7 separate regions of the Homo sapiens genome follow, and all the other regions are linked to region 7. Evidence: promoter capture Hi-C in 16 types of primary human blood cells and fetal thymus (Javierre and others, 2016). All regions are on one chromosome and are shown on one strand. The core of a region is centred on a gene start or on the middle of the fragment in contact, and the rest is flanking DNA. Distances in the headings are between cores, read along the strand shown. Region 1 holds the start of DOCK2 (dedicator of cytokinesis 2). Region 2 overlaps SPDL1 (spindle apparatus coiled-coil protein 1). Region 3 holds the start of CLINT1 (clathrin interactor 1). Region 4 holds the start of MED7 (mediator complex subunit 7). Region 5 holds the start of NPM1 (nucleophosmin 1). Region 6 holds the start of ITK (IL2 inducible T cell kinase). Region 7 holds the start of MAT2B (methionine adenosyltransferase 2 non-catalytic beta subunit).

What was found. The method cuts DNA at HindIII sites, captures the fragments that hold promoters and counts their contacts. A CHiCAGO score of 5 or more calls a contact.
Region 1: the fragment with the promoter of DOCK2 here is called in contact with the fragment with the promoter of MAT2B in region 7 in 8 of 17 cell types (non-activated CD4 T cells, naive CD8 T cells, fetal thymus and 5 more); the score reaches 21.4 in non-activated CD4 T cells.
Region 2: a contact is called between a fragment that was not itself captured here and the fragment with the promoter of MAT2B in region 7, in 1 of 17 cell types (total CD8 T cells). The highest score is 7.0, in total CD8 T cells.
Region 3: a contact is called between the fragment with the promoter of CLINT1 here and the fragment with the promoter of MAT2B in region 7, in 1 of 17 cell types (activated CD4 T cells). The highest score is 8.7, in activated CD4 T cells.
Region 4: a contact is called between the fragment with the promoter of MED7 here and the fragment with the promoter of MAT2B in region 7, in 8 of 17 cell types (fetal thymus, naive CD8 T cells, total CD8 T cells and 5 more). The highest score is 15.5, in fetal thymus.
Region 5: a contact is called between the fragment with the promoter of NPM1 here and the fragment with the promoter of MAT2B in region 7, in 3 of 17 cell types (total CD8 T cells, total CD4 T cells and naive CD8 T cells). The highest score is 8.2, in total CD8 T cells.
Region 6: the fragment with the promoter of ITK here is called in contact with the fragment with the promoter of MAT2B in region 7 in 1 of 17 cell types (total CD4 T cells); the score reaches 5.6 in total CD4 T cells.

The regions. Positions count from the first base shown.
Region 1 is chr5:169,635,929-169,638,628 of GRCh38, forward strand. DOCK2 (dedicator of cytokinesis 2) reads left to right here and starts at 1,347. Exons shown (of 52, transcript NM_004946.3): 1 at 1,347-1,441. The coding sequence starts at 1,399. RefSeq lists silencers at 1,215-1,694, 1,725-1,784 and an enhancer at 2,045-2,144. The HindIII fragment of the contact is 983 bases long and covers 960-1,942 here.
Region 2 is chr5:169,586,983-169,589,682 of GRCh38, forward strand. It overlaps SPDL1 (spindle apparatus coiled-coil protein 1), which reads left to right. Exons shown (of 12, transcript NM_017785.5): 2 at 1,412-1,593. The coding sequence starts at 1,435. Among named protein-coding and RNA genes, the nearest start is that of SPDL1, 4.6 kb to the left of the region's middle. The HindIII fragment of the contact is 258 bases long and covers 1,122-1,379 here.
Region 3 is chr5:157,857,712-157,860,411 of GRCh38, forward strand. CLINT1 (clathrin interactor 1) reads right to left here and starts at 1,434. Exons shown (of 12, transcript NM_014666.4): 1 at 1,219-1,434. The coding sequence starts at 1,259. RefSeq lists enhancers at 1,064-1,645, 1,483-1,722. The HindIII fragment of the contact is 1,599 bases long and covers 2-1,600 here.
Region 4 is chr5:157,141,526-157,144,225 of GRCh38, forward strand. MED7 (mediator complex subunit 7) reads right to left here and starts at 1,340. Exons shown (of 2, transcript NM_004270.5): 1 at 1,295-1,340. RefSeq lists enhancers at 1,008-1,057, 1,868-1,967. The HindIII fragment of the contact is 9,177 bases long and covers 1-2,700 here.
Region 5 is chr5:171,386,560-171,389,259 of GRCh38, forward strand. NPM1 (nucleophosmin 1) reads left to right here and starts at 1,290. Exons shown (of 11, transcript NM_002520.7): 1 at 1,290-1,447. The coding sequence starts at 1,390. It overlaps MIR3912 (microRNA 3912), which reads right to left and starts at 201; the gene lies at 97-201. RefSeq lists silencers at 1,571-1,630, 1,951-2,010. The HindIII fragment of the contact is 7,200 bases long and covers 72-2,700 here.
Region 6 is chr5:157,179,401-157,182,100 of GRCh38, forward strand. It overlaps ITK (IL2 inducible T cell kinase), which reads left to right and starts at 1,440. Exons shown (of 17, transcript NM_005546.4): 1 at 1,440-1,715. The coding sequence starts at 1,578. The HindIII fragment of the contact is 39,229 bases long and covers 1-2,700 here.
Region 7 is chr5:163,504,185-163,506,884 of GRCh38, forward strand. MAT2B (methionine adenosyltransferase 2 non-catalytic beta subunit) reads left to right here and starts at 1,435. Exons shown (of 7, transcript NM_013283.5): 1 at 1,435-1,565. The coding sequence starts at 1,503. RefSeq lists enhancers at 1,168-1,974, 1,192-1,281, 1,322-1,441 and a silencer at 1,612-1,751. The HindIII fragment of the contact is 7,455 bases long and covers 1-2,598 here.

The sequences.
Region 1 (2,700 bases), core at 97-2,596, 6.1 Mb after region 7:
AATCTCCTACTCTGGTCATCTGGTGGAACCCTAATACCACTGCTGACTGTATAAGACATTATTACCTAATTTGTGCTGCTAGAAAACAGAAAAGAAAATAACTGCAGATAAAACAAAATCAATAATTTTTTGTTGCTCCAGTTCAGCTGTGATATTGCCTAATCTATCTTAATGACTCTCCAGTGTAAGGCAGAAAGGGGTAGTGAGAGTCATGAATAAAGAAAGAAAACTCAGCAAAACTTAAATTCAGCCTTATCACTGTGGATCAGACTTTTTTTTTTTTTTTTTGGACAGAATCTGTTCTCAGAGCAAAAATGAGATTTTTCGAGGAAATGTCTCCATTAGCCTAACTCTAGGGCTCTTTTCCTGGGTCCCACTGTTGCTGGCTGTGACAGCACCCTTCACCTTGCAGTGATGTTGGTAAATAGTGTATTTACGTATTTTCAGAGTAGAGCTTCTAGAGCTTACATCAGATTTTCCAACGGGTTTGTAGCACCAAAACGATAAAAAGCTGTAAATGGGCCAGGCACGGTGGCTCACACCTGTAATCCCAGCACTTTGGGAGGCTGAGGCTGGCGGATCACCTGAGGTGGGGAGTTCGAGACCAGCATGACCAACATGGAGAAACCACGTTTCTACTGAAAATGCAAAGTTAGCCGGGCATGCTGGTGCATGCCTGTAATCCCAGCTACTGGGAAGGCTGAGACAGGAGAGTCGCTTGAACTCGGGAGGCGGAGGTCGCGGTGAGCCGCGATCGCGTCGTTGCACTCCAGCCTGGGCAGCAAGAGAGAAACTCGAAACTCCGTCTCACAAAAAAAAAAAAAAAAGGCTGTAAAGGATCCACCTCCAGGTAAACATTTACTCTTCCATGTCACCTGCTGTGTACATTGTCTCTCTAACCCTCACAATAATCATATGAAGTAGGTATTAGTATCCCATTTCACAGATGAGAAAACTGAAGCTTAGAAAAATGAAGTCATTTGTCCCCGTCTGGATTCGAACCGAGATCTGACACCAAAGCTCATGCTGAGGGGAGTTAAGGAGGTTTGTTCAGTCCCTAGGCACGGCAATCAGGAAACTCTCTGCACTTGCGGTGGTGGTCTGGCGAGCCCCAGGTGGGGACTGGCCTCTGCTCCCTCGCCTGGGGAGGAGACAAAGTGGGAGTGGTCCCCAAGTTTTGCGTGAAGTGGGGTGGGGTGGCGTGTCTTAGCCTACGGGGCACCAGCCTTCTAGTGTGCCCCTGCCCAACGGGAGGGAGGAGGGAGCGGGGAGCCCCGGCGAGGGAGGAGAGGGCGGGCCCTGAGAGGAGTTTGAAAAGAGGAAGGAAGTGGGGCCCTGCGGCGCCCAGCCACCCCCTGACGGCTTCCCCACGGGAGGACGCGAGGCCCCGGCCCAGCCATGGCCCCCTGGCGCAAAGCTGACAAGGAGCGGCACGGCGTGGGTAGGTGCGGGCCCCAGGGCGCGGCAGGGAGCGGGACAGGTGGCGGGAGAGCCGCGAGCAGGAGGATGCTGCGGGGCCGGCGGCGCGGGGTGGGCAGGGCGCGCTGCCTGCAGGTCAGAGGGCGCAGCCTGCGGCGGGGCCTCGGGGCGGGAAAGCCGAGGCTCGGGGAGAGGACGGCGGGACCCCACCCCGCAGGCTAAGCACAGCCCTCGCCCTCTCGCCTGCTGAGGGAACCTTAGACATTTCCGAGATAGGGTCAAGACCTGCGCTTGACAACTCAGTTCTTCGCGCCAAACTCGGCGTCCCCAGGAGTGCCCCAGCTCGCCGCGTGGGAGACTTGGCCTTGTAGAGGGAGCTCCACTCTCCCCTGGCTCAGCCTTGGCCTGCCCACCATGCATACTTCCACCCCCTCCAAAGCGACACCCATTTGCCTGCTTCCCCTGTCTGTTCCTCCTGGGTCAGATGACTCCTGATTTGGCAGGGCATCCAGAGGGCAGCTCAAGCTTGGGGGAATGGGGCTGGACGGTGGGGTTCTCTACTCAGCCCCCCAGAGCCTCTGGGGAAAAAGGCTCCCGCCAGGTGGTCTTAGGGTAACCAAGAAGCTAGCTTCGTCAGCCTCAGCCATCTAAACTCCCAGAAGCCTCTGCCTGGAGCTCAGGGGCGGAAGTGGTGGCTGGGGGAAGGGAGGCCTCAGGTGCTGCTACTCTAAGTGTCATCCGTGGTGCAATCTCCATGGACTCACTGTGGTTTTTAAACTTAAATATCAAATAAAAAGTCACTCTGGAGCTTCCTACACAGGCGGATACCAGACACCATCTCAGAGATAAATATTTCGCAGGTGAGGCATTGGAAGACCCAAACACCCAGAGGGATTTGATGCAGGGGGTCCCCAGGCCACTGTTTGGGAAACACTGCCCTGGAGAGATCAGCAGTTATCCACTCAATTACTGGGTACCGGGCACTGTGGGGTCATTTTGATATAAATGGTCCCCATCCAGAGAACAAATAATAATTCATATCTCAAGGGGCAGTTACAAAGTAAGGAAGGATACAGCTTCTGCCCTTGAGGAGTTATGTGTAAGGCTAGAGGCTTGGACTGGGAAGTCAGAACTGAGTTCAAATCAGGGTCTGTTTCCTCGTCTATAAAGTGGAAGTAATAATAATGCAGGTCTCATGAGACTCTTGTGAGGATTGAATGGGGTTATGCATGGAAAGCATTTAGTAGTGTGCTGGCTCAATAAGAGTTAGTGATTCAGGTC
Region 2 (2,700 bases), core at 1-2,500, 6.1 Mb after region 7:
CTCCCTGGGCTTCTTCCTGCCTTAAGGATTCCCCTCTTGCTGGAACATTCTTCTTCTAAATAGCTGCCTGGCTGATTCTCTCATCTTCTGCCTCCTGGTTACATCACCTGTCCCTTCTTCCCAGATTCTTATTCTGTTCTATTTTTTCTCATCTCCCCTTTCTAATTTATTAATATTCTGTTACTTACTGTTTATCTTCCCCTCCTGGAATGTAAGTTTCATGAGGGAGGAGCTTTTTTTTCGTCCATTTTGTTCCCTAATGAATCTGAACTGCCCAGAATGGAACCTAGTATATAAGGCATTCAAGAAATACTCGTTCAGTGAATGACTACATTGACTTGAGACATGGGGGAACATCTTGCAATGACCTGGTGCCCTTTGAAGGCAAAGGTGAGTTTGAGTCTCGCTTAGGAGGCTGGGACCAAATAGTAAAGGATAATTAGTAAGGTTGATTAAAGTGGAATGTTTCTATATATAATGTTTAAGTCTTTGTTTATAAATCTAGAATGAAAGCAACATCCTTTAATTCTTATGGATATGGTTTCTATTTTTGCATACTTTTATGAATAACTAGAAAAATACTAGTGAATCTCTTTCCAGGAAAGCAGATTTAATATATTCAGGAAGTTAACACTGTTGTGAAAAATTACAGACATGATATTTCTTACTTTACCTTATGAGCCTTATTCACAGCTGCCTTTTTATATTTTATGTGTTTATAGTACCCAGACCTTCCTTTTCTGGTGGTATTATTGTTATTATCATTATTATTTCTCAAGACAGTGTCTTGCTCTGTCAGTGCCATGATCATAACTCACTGAAGCCTCTAACTCCATCAATTTTCCTTCCTTAGCCTCCCAAGTAGCTAGGACTACGGGGGCTTGCCACCATCCCCACCTTATTTCTATTGATTGATTGATTGAGATGGAGTCTTGCTATGTTGTTCAGGCTGGTCTCGAATTCCTGGCCTCAAGTAATCCTCCCCAGTTGCTGGGATTACAAGCATGAGCCACCATACCTGCTACTATGAGGTTTCTTGATTACTTTTTTGTTATTCCCTTAATTTTGATTATATGGATAGTGGTCCAATTATGAGACCAAACTTACCTTAACATATTGGAAGCTTAGCATACAACAACTGAACAGTTTTCTGATGGTGAACTGTTTAGAAGCAAAATTAAATGTATTCTATTCCACTCTTTAATTTTTGATCCCAAATCAGTAACAGAATTGTCAGAACAGTTCTTGCTCTTGGAACAAGAATGCAAATTTGACTACTTATTAGTCAGGAAGAAAATTTTAATGTTTTTATACGACAGTAGTATTGAGTAGATATGTTTCTTCTGTTATTGATATTATTGCATGGAGTTTTTTGTATAAGCTTAAGTAGTTTTATTTCCTCTATTTACAGTTGGCTAAAAAAAAGAAAAGAACATGGAGGCAGATATAATCACAAATCTTCGATGCAGGCTCAAAGAGGCTGAAGAAGAGCGACTAAAAGCTGCACAGTATGGTTTACAACTAGTAGAGAGTCAAAATGAATTACAGAATCAATTGGATAAATGTCGTAATGAAATGATGACCATGACTGAGGTAGGACTCTGGACTCCTCTGTCTGCAAGAGTGTGCTTAGCTATTGAAGATTTGTCCTGTTTAGCAATTAATAGTAGTAGTAGTTTATTCTTTTCTGAAGATTTTAGATCTAGTTCCCGCCCTGCCCCGTCCCTGTTAAAAAAGAATGAACTAAATGAATTCCTGTTATTCTTTCCACCCTAGTGTATTCAGAGTTTGAAAGATCAAGTTATCATTACTCTCTTTGCCACATTTACTACCAGATTTTGCTTTGTCTGCACACTTCCTAGAAGACCTCACTTGTTTTAGACCTCTAAACATCTAAGTGCCCCATGACACTACACCAAGCCCTTAGTTCCCCCATGAAATCTAGGTTTGTGTTCAACTGCCCACTAATAGACTTCTCAAACTTAACACAGACAGAAGAGTGGATTCCCTGTCCGTTAACCAAATATTCTTTTACGATTTTTTTTAGCTTATTTAGTAAATATAATAGCATTCAGTTTCTTGAACACCAAAAATCTTTATATACCAAAGATTTTTGGTATATTTTTGGTTTCTTTATATACCAAAAATCTAGAACTTTTAGTCAATATCTTCCCTTTATTTCTCACATTTCACTCATTAATAAGTTCTAAGAACTAGACTACAAAGCATGTATCTTTGCTACTGGCACTGTAGTCCAGATCACCATCATCACTCCTAGACAAGTATTGTAGCCTTCTGGCCGGGTTGCCTGCTTCCATTGTTGCCATTCATGCCATTCATTCTTCACTCAGCGTCTAAGTGGTCGTGGAATAACACACCAAAGGTCATGCCACAGCCCTGCTAAAAACCATACAACAGCTTCTGATTTTATTTACAACAAAATCTGAGCTCCATCCTTGGGTTTGTAGATCCCTATGTGACCTGACCCCTGCCAAGCTTCTGACCTCACCTCAAACTGCTTTGCCTTGTTCTTGACTATACTGGTCCTCCCTTATGGGCTTTACACCAGCTATTGCCTTTTTTTTTTTTTTGAGTTGTTTACCCCTCACTGCTCTTGGGTTGAGTCCTCAGATTTCAGCTTTCATTTAAATGTCACTTCAGCGGAGAGGTCAGCCCTTACTATGTAATGTAAAGTTGCCC
Region 3 (2,700 bases), core at 184-2,683, 5.6 Mb before region 7:
AAGCTTGAACCCAGCTTTGCAGGTTCTGAAACCTGTGCTCCTTAGGCACTCTATTGCCTTCTTGGTAGCACAGAAAATATAAAAATATGGTCAAGCTCTAAGTTCTATCTGATGTATCAGACAAGGCACTGGAAATTACTTTGTTTCCTGGTGTCAAGAAAACAGTTTGCTATCTATACTTCCTGATTTTAGGTTAGGTGGGTGGCACAAATCAACTGTTTTTCTCACCACACTTATTGCATAATCATTAAAGCCCCAAAGGAAGAGGACTGCTTAAATTCTTAAACTTTATTTCCTGCTGGCCTAGAAGACCTTACTTAACCACTGTTATACCTGATATACTCATTTTAAAAGTTAAGGTTTTCCTTGTGCAAGTAAGAGACTAAAGTTATTTCAGTCTTAAAGGAAATCAACTACGTACTGGTCGTTTTACCTGCTTTTAAAAGCAGATCAACAGGATATAAACCTGGGTTGTTTTTTTCCTTAAGAGGACATTTCTTAATGACCTCTTAATTTAATCGAATGGAACAAGTAGCACACCAAAAATGATGTGTAGTGGAAAAAGAAACAGAAGAAAAAATCGCAAGAAGTCATATAGTGATCTACTTTCACTAGTGTTAGAAAAGCAAAGGATGAGTGTCTTCTTGAGTAACTTCAGGCTGACCACAATAGCCACTTGTTACACTACTACCACCCACTCCAACACTTCAGGTTCATTAGGAATTAAGAGGAGGCAAGGAAGATAAAAGACACACCCCAACCAGGTCTAAGGTCTCTCCGTACTACACCTTGAGGGACACAGGGAACCAGTGCATTGTGCCCCCCACCCCCAAACCTTCCCTGCTCCCCAGGAGGCAAAGCCCACGGCCTGGGGCCAAGACAGTCCTCCGGCCAGGGCAGTGACCCAGCGCCAAACAACCCGCCCCTTATGACCAAAGCGTCGGCACCCAGGGGTTGGAATAGGGGAAGGGACGGGAAGGCCTGGAAAGGAGAGAAGGGTGGCCAAGAGGATGTTTTTTTTTAAAACGAGGGAGGGTCCCTCCCCAGCCTCGCCAGCGGGGATGAGGCCCGGGGCCGGGAAGGAGCGGGCCGCCGCCATGATGGGGCTGGCAGAGCCAGGGGGCGTGACGTGGGCAACCCCTAGCCCAAGGCCAGCTCCTTCTCCCCCTCCCCCCTCCCCCACGTGGGCCTCGGCCACAACTGCCCCCCGATACTCACGCTTTGTCCACCAGCTCGCGCACCTTCCACATGTTCAACATCGTGCCCCGCGCGGGACGGTCCGCCGCCTCCCTCTCCTGCTCCCCACGGACCCCGGAACACTTCCGTACCGGGGCAGTTCCAGGCCGGGGTCACCGCCGCCCGCCGCCTCGAACTCCCCCAGTCAGCTCCTTCCTTTGCCACAGCAGCGGCGCCGCCGGTGACACGTCGAGACGCGGCAGCACAGGCGCTGCGTGGAGCGGAAGTGTCCGACTTTCCGCCGCTGCGCGCGGGGCACGCCGGGACTTGTAGTTTTCCCTGAGTGCCGAGCTCGGCCGGTTGAGTTGGGAGAGCTGAGAGGTTGAGTTGGGAGAGCTGAGAGGAGTTGGGATGGTTTCTCTTAAGCTTTCCCAGTCCCCGGCCCCAGACCTACCGAGCCAGAAATTTTGGAGGTGGGGCCCAGCGATCTGTGCTTTTACAAATCCTCTAGGTGATTCTGATCACGCTCAAGTTTCAGAACCACTGGTGCAGGGTCTAGTCACACTCAAACACTTTTCAAATGTAAGGCAGTATTACTATGTTATTAGTAATGATTATACAGAAGTATGATTGGCATACGCATTCCTCATCGACAGACACATCGCTGTATTTATTTCCCAATGCCCAAGTACACTTAGATCTCTAGGCCTTAGTTTCCACCCCTGTAAAATTGAAGAACTTGTATTCTAAATCCTTTTCCGCTCTAATTCTATGATACAATGTTTTATATTTAGACAACTACCTGAAATCCTTGTTAAATGCTTTACTATAAACCTCAGAAACTCAGTTCACACTCCACGGGAAACTAAAAAGCCAACATTATATATACACGCACACATACACATACATATGACAGGTTTGTGTTTTTTAAGGATAAATATGCACATTGCTTCCATTGCTTTGTTGCAATGGTTGTCATCACTTCCTTCTCTACTTACTCATTTTTATCAATGCTCATGTTAAAGCTACAAGCAACCTTAAGTTTCATTTGATCCATCTGCTGAAATTTTACAGTTCTTTTCATTCTACAAATATTTATTGAGCATCTTGTATGTTCCAGAAGTGGGGAATATAGTTAAAGACCCAGCTCTCTTGGAATTCAAACGTAATTGGAAGAAACATATAATAATCAAGGAAACATTTAAGATAATTGCATATAGTGTAATTGCTTAGCGGGTTCTTTCTGCCCACTTTACAGATAAAGTCAATTCACTGCGACCAAGTCATTGCAGTGAAGAGTTTGACATGAGGCTGGCCATGCCACTTGAGAGACAGAGTTATTACTCAAATCAATCTTCCTGAACATTTGGAAGCTAGAGTTTTTCAAAGATAGTTTGGTGAGCAGAGGGTTAGGGCATGGGTGCTGCTGATTGGTTAGGGATGCAATCAGAGGAGTATGGAAAATGGTTCTCCTTTGCTGAATCGGCTTCTTGATGGAGGGCCAGCAGAGGAGTGGCTGGTCTG
Region 4 (2,700 bases), core at 90-2,589, 6.4 Mb before region 7:
TTATGGCCTCTGTAACATAATCTTCATTAACAATTCTATGAATTAAGGTTTTTGGGGTTTTTGTTGTTAGTTTTGTTTTTTGAGACAAGGGCTCAATCTGTCTCCCAGGCTGGAGTGCAGTGGTACCATCAGGGCTCACTGCAACCTCTGCCTCCCGGGTTCAAGGGATTCTCCTGCCTGAGCCTCCTGAGTAGCTGGGGACTACAGGTGCGCACCACCACGCCCAGCTAATTTTTGTATTTCTCGGTAAAGACAGGTTTTCACCATGTTGGCCAGGCTGGTCTGGAACTCCTGACCTCAAGTGATCCGCCCACCTCGGCCTCCCAAAGTGCTGGGATTACAGGCGTGAGCCACCACACGGTCCCACGAATTAAGTTCTATTATCAATTTCATTTTAGAAGTGAGGATCCGAAGTCTCAATGAGGGGAAGTGTTGCCCCAGATCAAAAGGTTAATAAATGGCACAACAGGAATTCTTATCCCAGGTCCCTTTAGCTCCAAAGGGCAAGCTCTCTTATATCCCTAAGCCGAGAAGCATCTAACTGTACAATAAGGACTGGCATATCACAAAAATTATATTTCTTTCTCTACTGTCTCTCTAGATGGAACTTTTCAAAGGTGATGGAGGTCTTATTTTTAATAAAAGCAGAGCCAAGCATCAGAGCTGGTTCTTAACTCAAGATCCAACATCTAGTGTTTGTTCTACTGGGGGAGAAGGAGCTTCACCAGAAGACGACAGACATTCCAGGGTCCCAGCCCCAGAGATTTGATTCATTCTGTCTACTGTGAATGGGCCCTAGAATGTCGCTTTTAAAACCTCTCCAGATGGACCTGACGATTAGGCTTGGGATCTACCGCCCTCGCCTGCCCCCATACCTCAGCTGTTTCATAACTGCTCCCAGAAGAAGGAAGGGCAGGGAGGGCTACTCTCATGTTACAAAGAGCCGGAGAGGGCAAATGACTCGCCCAAGGCCACACAGCTTAGAAAAACAGCGGCGCGGGGACTAGACGCCAGGTCTCCCAACCTCCACTCCGGCTCGGCGTCCCAACACGGAGGAAGCCCCGAGACTGCCACGCTTAGAGCCCCCTCCTCCAGGCTGTCCACCCCGAGGCCTCCGCGCTCTCGGAGAGACCGCACTCTCGGAGAGACTCGGGAGAGAAAGACGAAAGACCGCCTTTGGAGGCCGAACTCAGCCATGCCTCCCCAGTTCCCAGCCCAGCACAGAGGAAGCTGCGGGGTCCGGAAGAAAAAAACGCACACAGGCGGCGGCCCCAAACCGTTGCCGCCCACTTACCTCAGCTCTGGCTTTACACTGGTAGCCGCCTTCCCCTCTGCAGCCGAAACCAACTTCCGGTCTCCTCCGGGAAGAAGCCACCGACTCTGTCCTTGATTGGCTGTAAGAGCTGTCCTTTAACGAAATTCTAGCTCCGCCTCAGACCGATCCCTCGCTGTTGCGCCTACGTATGTTTGACTCCTCCCATCCACCCGTTACTGACTTTTAAAAGTCGTAGCTGAGGGTTCCGTTTCTTCGTTTCTTTTTGAATTAAGGCATAAAATTGAACAAGACACCTTATTGCTTTATTTTTTATAGACCCCTTATTGACCAGAAACAATCTTATGTTTTAATGTTTAACATGCTCTTGTAAGACTTAACGTGAATTTAGAAATTTATGACACGAAAATAACCTCCAAAAGAAACGCTTGCTATTGCGCCTGCGTATATTCCACCCCCTTCCCCATTACCACTCTTTTACTGACTTAGTCGCTGCTGGTAGTTCCATTCCTTTTGTCCTTTTTTAATTTAACGCATACAATTAAGACGTCTTACATACAAATTCGAAAATATAGACATGCAGGGTTTTTTTGTTGTTTTTTTCTTTGAGACGGAGTCTTTCTCTTTCGCCCAGGCTGGACTGCAGTGGCGCGATTTCGGCTCGCTGCAACTTCAGTCTCCGGGATTCAAGCGATTCTCGTGCCTCAGCCTCCCGAATAGTTGGGGTTTCACCTATTTTTTTTTCTTTTTTTTGTATTTTTGGTAGAGACAGGGTTTCACCGTGTTGGCGAGGCTCATCTCGAGCTCTTGATATGAAGTGATCCGCCCGCCTCGGCCACCCAAAGTGCTGGGATTGTAGGCGTGAACCACCACTTCCGGACTCCCCCATTTTAAATCCCTCGCACGTATCAATTTATTTCCTGAAGAAATCCATCTACGTTGAGCATAACCCAATCCAGCTTTTCTCCTCACCGCTGACCCCAATGTATCCTGCACCAGTGACTTCCAATGGTCGTTCCCAGTCCTCATTTTACTCCATCTGTCAGCAGCATTTGGCACATTTGATTAATGGATTGCCCCAGGACTCAGTTCTCCAACCACTTCTCAGTCAGATATCAGCTGGATGATTACATGCAGGCCCTGGAACACCGTTTCCTCTGCACTTCAGACCCTCATATCCAGTGGTGACAGACATCTTTCCCCAGTTGCACTTTACTCAATTGCAAATGTTCAATCGAAGGAATCACCTTTTTCTCCTTTCTCACATACCCCACCGAAACTACCATACCAGCCTTTTGCATTAGATCTATTTAAAAATAAGTAAATAAAGTTCCAAATATGACTGACCACCGTTCCCACTGCTATGGTCCTATGCCATGCCACCATTATCTCTCACCTGGACTTCTTTGATTTTTTGTCCTCCCTTA
Region 5 (2,700 bases), core at 40-2,539, 7.9 Mb after region 7:
CCTGGACAACACAGCGAGACTCTGTCTCCACACACACACAAAAAAAGGCATAACAAATTTAAGTGACTCAAAGCTTTATGTGACACAGGAGCTCTCAGAAAGGAACAGTTAAATTATAACATGTCCATATTATGCGTTAGTATGTGTCCACAACTAACCCATAATATGGACATGTTATAATTTAACTGTTCATTCCTCTCTTGATAGACACTGAAATCGTCTCTATAATTTTCCTGTAAGAAATAATGCCTTGGGGTGGGGGTGTCTTCCTTTCTGAGGCTATCATTTGTATTCCTCACTTCTTAAATTTGTTTGATATGTTGAGGCTTAAAAAAAAAAGATTACGGGTCTTCAGAACGCCCCAATGCCCGCGGGGTGCTGGGGTGCCTCGGAGTTTGTCAAGGTGTAGCTTAAAACGTTAATTCCCATGCTCGCTCCCAAATATTCGAATTAAGGCTTCTGTAGTTCTTACAAGTCACCCGCTTTCTTTCAGGAGGAATGTTAAAGATTAAGAGCGGCAAGAAGTCAGAGTCGGCCCACCCTCCGAGCTCTCTTAGGGCGATGTCCTTGCTAATTTGGAGACTGATTCAGTCCCCTTTTGGCCCCCAAGTTACGTAAAGATAAGGACTTTGGAGATGTTTTCTCAGGAAGGACAGAGCTGAAAAACAAAGTTCCGTAAGTCTGGCCGGTAACTACATCTTTCCTTCCTAACAAAGAATAAGCCGCAATTCACTCTCTCTGGCACCTGAACTTTGGGGTAACGATTAACTGCGATCCGAAGCCTTCAGGCAAGTAAAAAATTCCTGAAGTGATTACGCCTGTTTGGAGGCTTGCAGGGCACTAGGGGATGGGGAAAGGTGAATCGAGGTGCTCTCTGGCTCATTCGCAGCCGGCTAACCCGCCATATCTTACACAGCTAAGGGCTGCCGACGCCATTTTGCAGGGTGGGCTGCGCAGACTCTTGGCGGGAGGCCGGCGCGCTTGAGCGGGAGAGGACGTGGAAGGGTTGGAGGTGGGGAGTGCGCGTTACGACTGGAAAGCACGCGTGCGCACAGGCGACAGCAGCGGAGGGGTGGGGCCAGTGTACGAGTGCGCGTGCTCGGTGGGAGCCCGCGGAGTACCTGGAAGGAGGTGGGGGCGAGGTAGAAAGGAGTGGGGTTGAAAAGCGCTTGCGCAGGACGGCTACGGTACGGGGGTGGGAGGGCTTCGGAGCACGCGCGCGGAGGCGGGACTTGGGAAGCGCTCGCGAGATCTTCAGGGTCTATATATAAGCGCGGGGAGCCTGCGTCCTTTCCCTGGTGTGATTCCGTCCTGCGCGGTTGTTCTCTGGAGCAGCGTTCTTTTATCTCCGTCCGCCTTCTCTCCTACCTAAGTGCGTGCCGCCACCCGATGGAAGATTCGATGGACATGGACATGAGCCCCCTGAGGCCCCAGAACTATCTTTTCGGTAACTGCTGGGGGGAGCTGGAGCGAGGCCGAGCGGGGCCTGGTGGCGGTGAGGGTGGGGGTGAGGGGCGGGAATCCGGCTGCAACCGGGTCTGGTGGAGACCGCCAGACCGACGGGAGGCCTGAGCGGGTGGGAAGAGCTGCCTGAGCCCTGGACCTGGAGGGATTGGAGCCGCGGGGGGAGCCGGTGGCGTGAAGGGGGAGGAGACGAGCGGCCTGAAGCGTCTGGGGCGTGAGCGGTCCGAGGCCCGGGGCCTGAGGTAAAGTGGAACCGGCCGCCTGGAAGTTCGGCCTTTGCCGGGGATACGTGGCGGAGCTCCAGGCGTGGTTTATTTTCTAACGGCGGTGGTTCATAGGCTTCTGATGCCAGGCCCCGGGTTGGTGGTCCTGGAGGCTGGGTTCACCGGGAAGCATGGGCCTGCTTGTTGGAGCGGGTAGATGCACAGCCTGGCGTTATTCTGGCCTCAGAGCCTGGAGCTGCCGGACGTAGACTTACCTCGCGTGCTTCGGCCAGTTACTGGGGGTGGGGAGGCGCGGCGCGGCGTGAGGAGGCCGCAACCGCTGGGAGCACGTGGTTGCCACGTGGTTGGGGGAGGGAGGGGGGTGTGGGCGCTACATCCGGGACTCACCGGCGTGTTGCCACTCGTGAGCCAGGGATGCTGTGGCTCTGTTGAAGTGGGAAATGTTAAGAGGCTGGTAGCACTAGGGTTCTGGAGGTCTTTGTTCAGTGCTTACAGCATGTACTGTGATGGCAGCTCTCATTTTTTTGAGCCCCTTTTCTGTCTCACTGCGGTAGGTGGAGCTAGCCCCACTTTGCAGATGAGGATACTGGTGCCCAGAGATAAACTCACTTAACGAAGGTTGTACTTAGTAAAGGCAATAAGAGACTAAATCTAAACCAAGACGCTTGACTCCGTAGCTGCTGCTTCGTGAATATTAATGAGGCTTCGTTTTAGGGGGACGTCCTCGCATGCCGCCATTTGTGCGGCATTGACCAAACTGCTTTTCTAAATACAAGAAACACGTAGAGTGTTCGGTTTGAGTCAGATCAAGACCTAAGACTATTCGCAGAATTTTGGGAGCACCACCCCCCTCGACTTGCGGTAGTCCTGCCCCAAAAAGGAGAGTCCCACTTGGGTTTTTGATCTCAGTAGGATTAATTGCAGAAGCCTAATCTTTGTACTATTCAGACTTTGAAGTAAATGCAAATCCTACCGTGAATTTTATCTTGTTCATTATCCGTGCTGAGATTTG
Region 6 (2,700 bases), core at 190-2,689, 6.3 Mb before region 7:
ATACTCCATTGTCCTCAACATTCAATTTCCACCTCATGATACTAGATAGCTGCTTCAGCTCCAACTGTTACCTCAATATTCTAGTCACAAGGCAGGAGGAAAAGGGAAAGAAAAGGGGATGACAGATCCCACTAAGGAAATTTCCTAGAAGTTGTGCACACGACTTCTGCTACATTCAGTTGACCAGAAGACAGTCATACAACTACACCTAGCTACAAGGGAGGCTAAAATTTGTAGTCTTTATTCTTGCTGGCCAGATGCCCAGATAACTGTCAGGGATTCTGTTACTCTAGTAAGAAGGAGAGAGTAGCTATTTGGGAATAGTAGCAATCCCTACCTCAAGCCCATACTCAGAAAAAAAAAATACTATCTTGTTTGGGCAGTGTATTTCCACACATATGTCTTAAGAATCTCAGAATGGGGGAGGTAATTTAAAATATACCAGTACCGTACCCTCCTGGGTGTCTTGATTATGCTGGGGCATCCAGTATATGAAATAAAATTAGGCTGTTGTCTGGTAATTTACATTTAAAAATAAACATTGGAGAATTTCACTCCTATACAGCAATAATTATTATTTCATTTATTATTTATCCCTACCCACTACATGCAATATCTGCTTACACTAAAATCTCTTGATTATTAACATAGTAGAGGTAACTGTCACACATTATACTTCAACTATGTACTAACTCTAAGGTGACATGTATGACTAGCACCTACCATTCATAAGATGTATGGGATTCAGTCCTCCAAAGGACCCTCACAAGGAAGCTAAGGATCAGAGAAGTCATGGCTTGCTCAAAGAGAAACAGCATAGTAAGTGACAGAGCTGGGAATCCAACACAAGTTTGTCTGTTTTCAAAGCCCACATATACTTTGTTTATTATGCCATTCTGAAGGATTCACTTATTTTTCACTCTTCCACAAAACGTCAGGACAGAAAGGCAGTCATCTATATGTAGCATTGAGAAATTTCTATGGGCTTTAATTTAAATCTTAAAAACTAATAAACTTCAGCAACATATTTCTTCACTTTAATGTGTGAGGGTTTTGTGCTCATTACCTCTTTTAATTGTCCAACCCAATTTGGTGATGATCCATTCAACAAATTTTTCTTGAACATCTGTTTTATGTGTCAGGTACTGTGATGGTTGCTGAGTATATCATGGTAAGCAAAACCACACATTGTCCTTACTCCTTGTGCTACATGATTTAACTGCTGGATGGATTAAACCAGGAACTATAAAGATTAAACTGTAATCCTTACCACAATTTTGAGTTTACAGTTTTTCAAATATCATTTCAAGCCATTAGCAAAGGCTGTATGTATTTTTTACATATGCCTCCTCGTTTTGTGAATTTTGAAAGGATGTGGTTTCGGCCTTTGACATCAGAGGAGAAGCTCAGCTATGTTGGCTGAACGTTGATAGAAAGATAACGTTGAAGGCAAGTTGCCCTTGAGCAGCTCTCTGAAGATCAACTGCCTCCACATTGCATTCTTTGCCCCAAAACTCTTTCCTTTGGTTGTGCTAAGAGGTGATGCCCAAGGTGCACCACCTTTCAAGAACTGGATCATGAACAACTTTATCCTCCTGGAAGAACAGCTCATCAAGAAATCCCAACAAAAGAGAAGAACTTCTCCCTCGAACTTTAAAGTCCGCTTCTTTGTGTTAACCAAAGCCAGCCTGGCATACTTTGAAGATCGTCATGGGGTATGTGAGCAGTTTCATTTGTCTTTTTTCGCATAGCATTTTATGTTTGGACTGGGCTAATGCAAAAATATATACATAGCATAAAATAGAGCACAGGAAACACAAACATGCTTATTGTAACAACATAAAAAGTACAGTAAAAGTAATCAGAGGAGAATGCAGAGAGCAGTCAAGAGGTGAAATGGTGGTGCTAGGTGATTTCAGTTCTAAAAACTGTAAATTTAACATTCATCAGCTTTTTCCCCCTGCAAGGTTATGTTTGGTTTTTAAATTATGAATAACATTTTAGGTAGCAAGTATTATGATTCGATAAAACTTGAACTTTCTATGAAACATACTAAATTTAATGAAACATACTAAATTTAATGAAACATAGATTAATACAACACTAGCATTCAATGGGATGATCTACCCCAGCTTTCTTATTTTTTAGTGGAAGAAACTGGTGTTTAGAATGGTTAAGTTTTGGGTTCAGTGTTAACGTTTTCATGAATAACTCTGTTTGTCTCAATACTCGTCGCTAGCCTGATCTTGAAATAAGATTTCCCAGGCATTTAATTATCTAAAAGTTGTAAGGCACAATGGCAAACCTCTTCATCTCTTGATAGACTTCTTAGGACACCAGGGTTATTAAGAACAAAGTTTCTGCAGTGCAGACCAGCGGTTCTTACCCAGAAGGAGTATGGCTGCTTTGCTAGGTCAGTCTATCTCTTTATCTAAAAATAGTCTTGTGCTTCTTAACATCACTAATAACAAAAGCAACAGGAATAATCCTAATAATGTAGTTTGGTAGAAAAAGCATTGGACAAAGGGTCAGGAGACCAAACTCTACTTCTCAGTAGGTGATCCAGTCTGGGCAAATGTCTACCTCCTGTTTCAGGTTCTTTCTTCATAAAATGAAAAAACTGGAAATAACAACCTTCAAGATCCCTTTCTTCTTCAAAACTTCTTTGCTTTATGCAGTGGCTCTTGTTTAGCCCTATGC
Region 7 (2,700 bases), core at 185-2,684:
GTAGTAAGATGATCTTGGCTGCTCCCCCGGCCCTCTTCCCGCCCTCTTCTTTGTTGTCCCCTGATTATGCTTGTTTAGCGCTGGGGCAGTCCTCAAGGATTCCCTAAATAAAGCCAAACTAATGAACAGTAATAGCCTGTGTTTAAAAAAAAAAAAAATCGGAACATAAGAAACCTCAGGCTGTCTTCGATTACTGTTCTAGAGAAACTTTATGTTTACACGAATAAGGAAATGAGTTTTTGTTGGGGGTTGAGGAGGAAGGAAAGTCATGGTGTTCTGACGTGGAAAACTTCTTTAAAAGGCTGCTTAGTCTTTAGTTTGAAAATAAACCAAAAAGGTTTAGGAGTCGGGGAAAGGCCCTAGGAAAATCCAGACAGTGGTCACGTTTGTGGACGACGTTTAGAGCTTGCTATCCTGGGCACACAAGAACCCTTGGACTGTTCGGTGCAAAGTTGGCAAATCCTACACGGCCTGTGCCAGGGTTTACTTTCTGCATCAATTTCACAGGCGTCCAGCCTGGCTGAGGATTTTTTGCGGTTTTTAACTGGAAGGGAAATAAGTCGGCATCAGCACTTAGGGCTGCTTAACTTTTAAAAGGTGGTAGAACGCCCAGCCTTACACGCTGCTGCTTAAATTCTCGGTGCTCACCAAGGCTGGGCTCGTGTGGCCCAATCCTGCAATCCCCGAGGCGGTGTTTCTTAAAGAGTGGGCTTGATTCTGGTTAAACCCATTAAGAAGTCGGACCCCGGGCTCGTTTCTTGTTCTGTAATTATGGGTAAAGTCCAAGGATCTGCGTTTTGAAGAGGTACCTAAGTAGTTCATCTTCCTTCCCCCTACAACTTTTTATTTTTAATTAGTTAAAAATAGTTTTACATTTTTGATATCTCACACACAGGTTTTTTCTTTTTTTAAGCATCCCAGGAAGACAAATGGCTCAGACGCCAACCCTTTTATTTTTATTCCTTGTCTTTTTCTAAATCTTTCAAAACCCCCACCTAGAGCTCTAGAGATGTGTCCATTATGCTCTACCCACCTCCGCCCCCGCCCCCATGACTTTAAAATGCTTTTTATTCCACTTTTTATATTGCTCAGTCGATCCTCATGCACTGCGCAGTCTGCAAACTTGAAACTCAAGGCGATCCACTTCAATCTTTTCCCGAGTCAAGAAAAAAAGGAAAAAAAGTAGAATAAAAAGCACTCAAATAAAATCTCCGAAACAAAACCTGAATTCACTGCCTAAGGTCAGGGCCTTTCTTTTGTGTGTCGCTTTAAGCATCGGCGCGTGGGCTGGGGGCAGACCGCGCGTACCCGCCCTCTTTCTGGGGCGTCGGCGGAGCGTGGCCAATCAACGGGCGCGGCTATGGCAGCGGAAGCCGGAAGCGGCGAGCGGGGTCGTTCTGGGCCTAGGGGAGGCGGGCCGAGGGCGTCTGAGCTGAGGCCCGCGTCGATCCTGGGTTGGAGGAGGTGGCGGCCGCTGAGGCTGCGGCGTGAAGACGGCGGGCATGGTGGGGCGGGAGAAAGAGCTCTCTATACACTTTGTTCCCGGGAGCTGTCGGCTGGTGGAGGTGAGGGAGTCGGCCTGGGCGTCTCCGGTGGGAGCGGGGGCGCCGAGGGGGACGAGCCACCGGGGCTCGGGCGGCTTTGCAGGCGTATTCCGCCCGGGTCAGAGCCTCCGGCCGGGAGTGGTCTCACCGCCACCCTCCCAGCCCCGGATCCGAGGGGGGCGCCACCGAGTTTGTTTATCTCAGCGCACACGGGTCAGTGTTTTTTTCTTCCAGCCACTGCGGCAGGAAGCAAGTAGGTGGAGGTTTTACTTTCGAGTTCTGTCTCTGCTCCTGAGGACGAAGAGGTTTTTCAGAATTGTTTGTTTTGATTTTGGTTTTCCCCGTTTATTCATCTTTGGTTCGTATTTCTCGATCTTACAAGTTCGTAGGTTTGAGAAAGAACAGGAAAAGGTGACTTCTCACAAATAACAGTGCTGGAGATGACAACTTATTGAACTCTTAAGTTCTCAGCACTATGTTATGCACTTGACGGGCATTACTTTAATCCTCCACTGTGAGATACTTGTTATTGCCTCATTTTGTAGACGAGAAAACGGGCATAGAGGGTGAGACATTGGCCCAGGTTCATTCCGTAAGGTTGGAGCCTGGAATTCAGATACAGGTTTGTGTGACTGTCTTGGGCTTTGAACCACTACGGAGTTTCCCTGAAGGAAGATTATGGTGATGATTGGAAGATCCATCTCTGGTGCCCCCCTCGCCCCCGTCCCATCCTGCTCCATTCCACTTAAGGGCCTCCAGCATTAATCTGTCCACAGAACATATCCAACCCTGGGGATAAGAACACTACTAATGCCCAGACCATGTCTTTTGGAGAGAGTAGAGAATATAGGAGATGGCTGTTTCTGTTATTGCAAAGTTTTCATGCTTCCAAATTTACTTAGGGTTTTCAAATCACTTTGGTTCTTTGAGGGTAAAGTTAGGATAAATGGTCTATTAAACCTCTATGTTCCTAGGTCCTCCAGACCGTGCTGAGTGCATGTTACATACGTTTACATTTATATGTATGCATTTGTATGTGTACGTGTGCATATAAAGCTTAATCTACTTTCACAAAAAGAAGTTCAGTATAAAAATGAAAATAGCTTTTCGTGTTTTCCTTCATTAAAAATGAAACAACGAAGAGCTTGGCACAGAC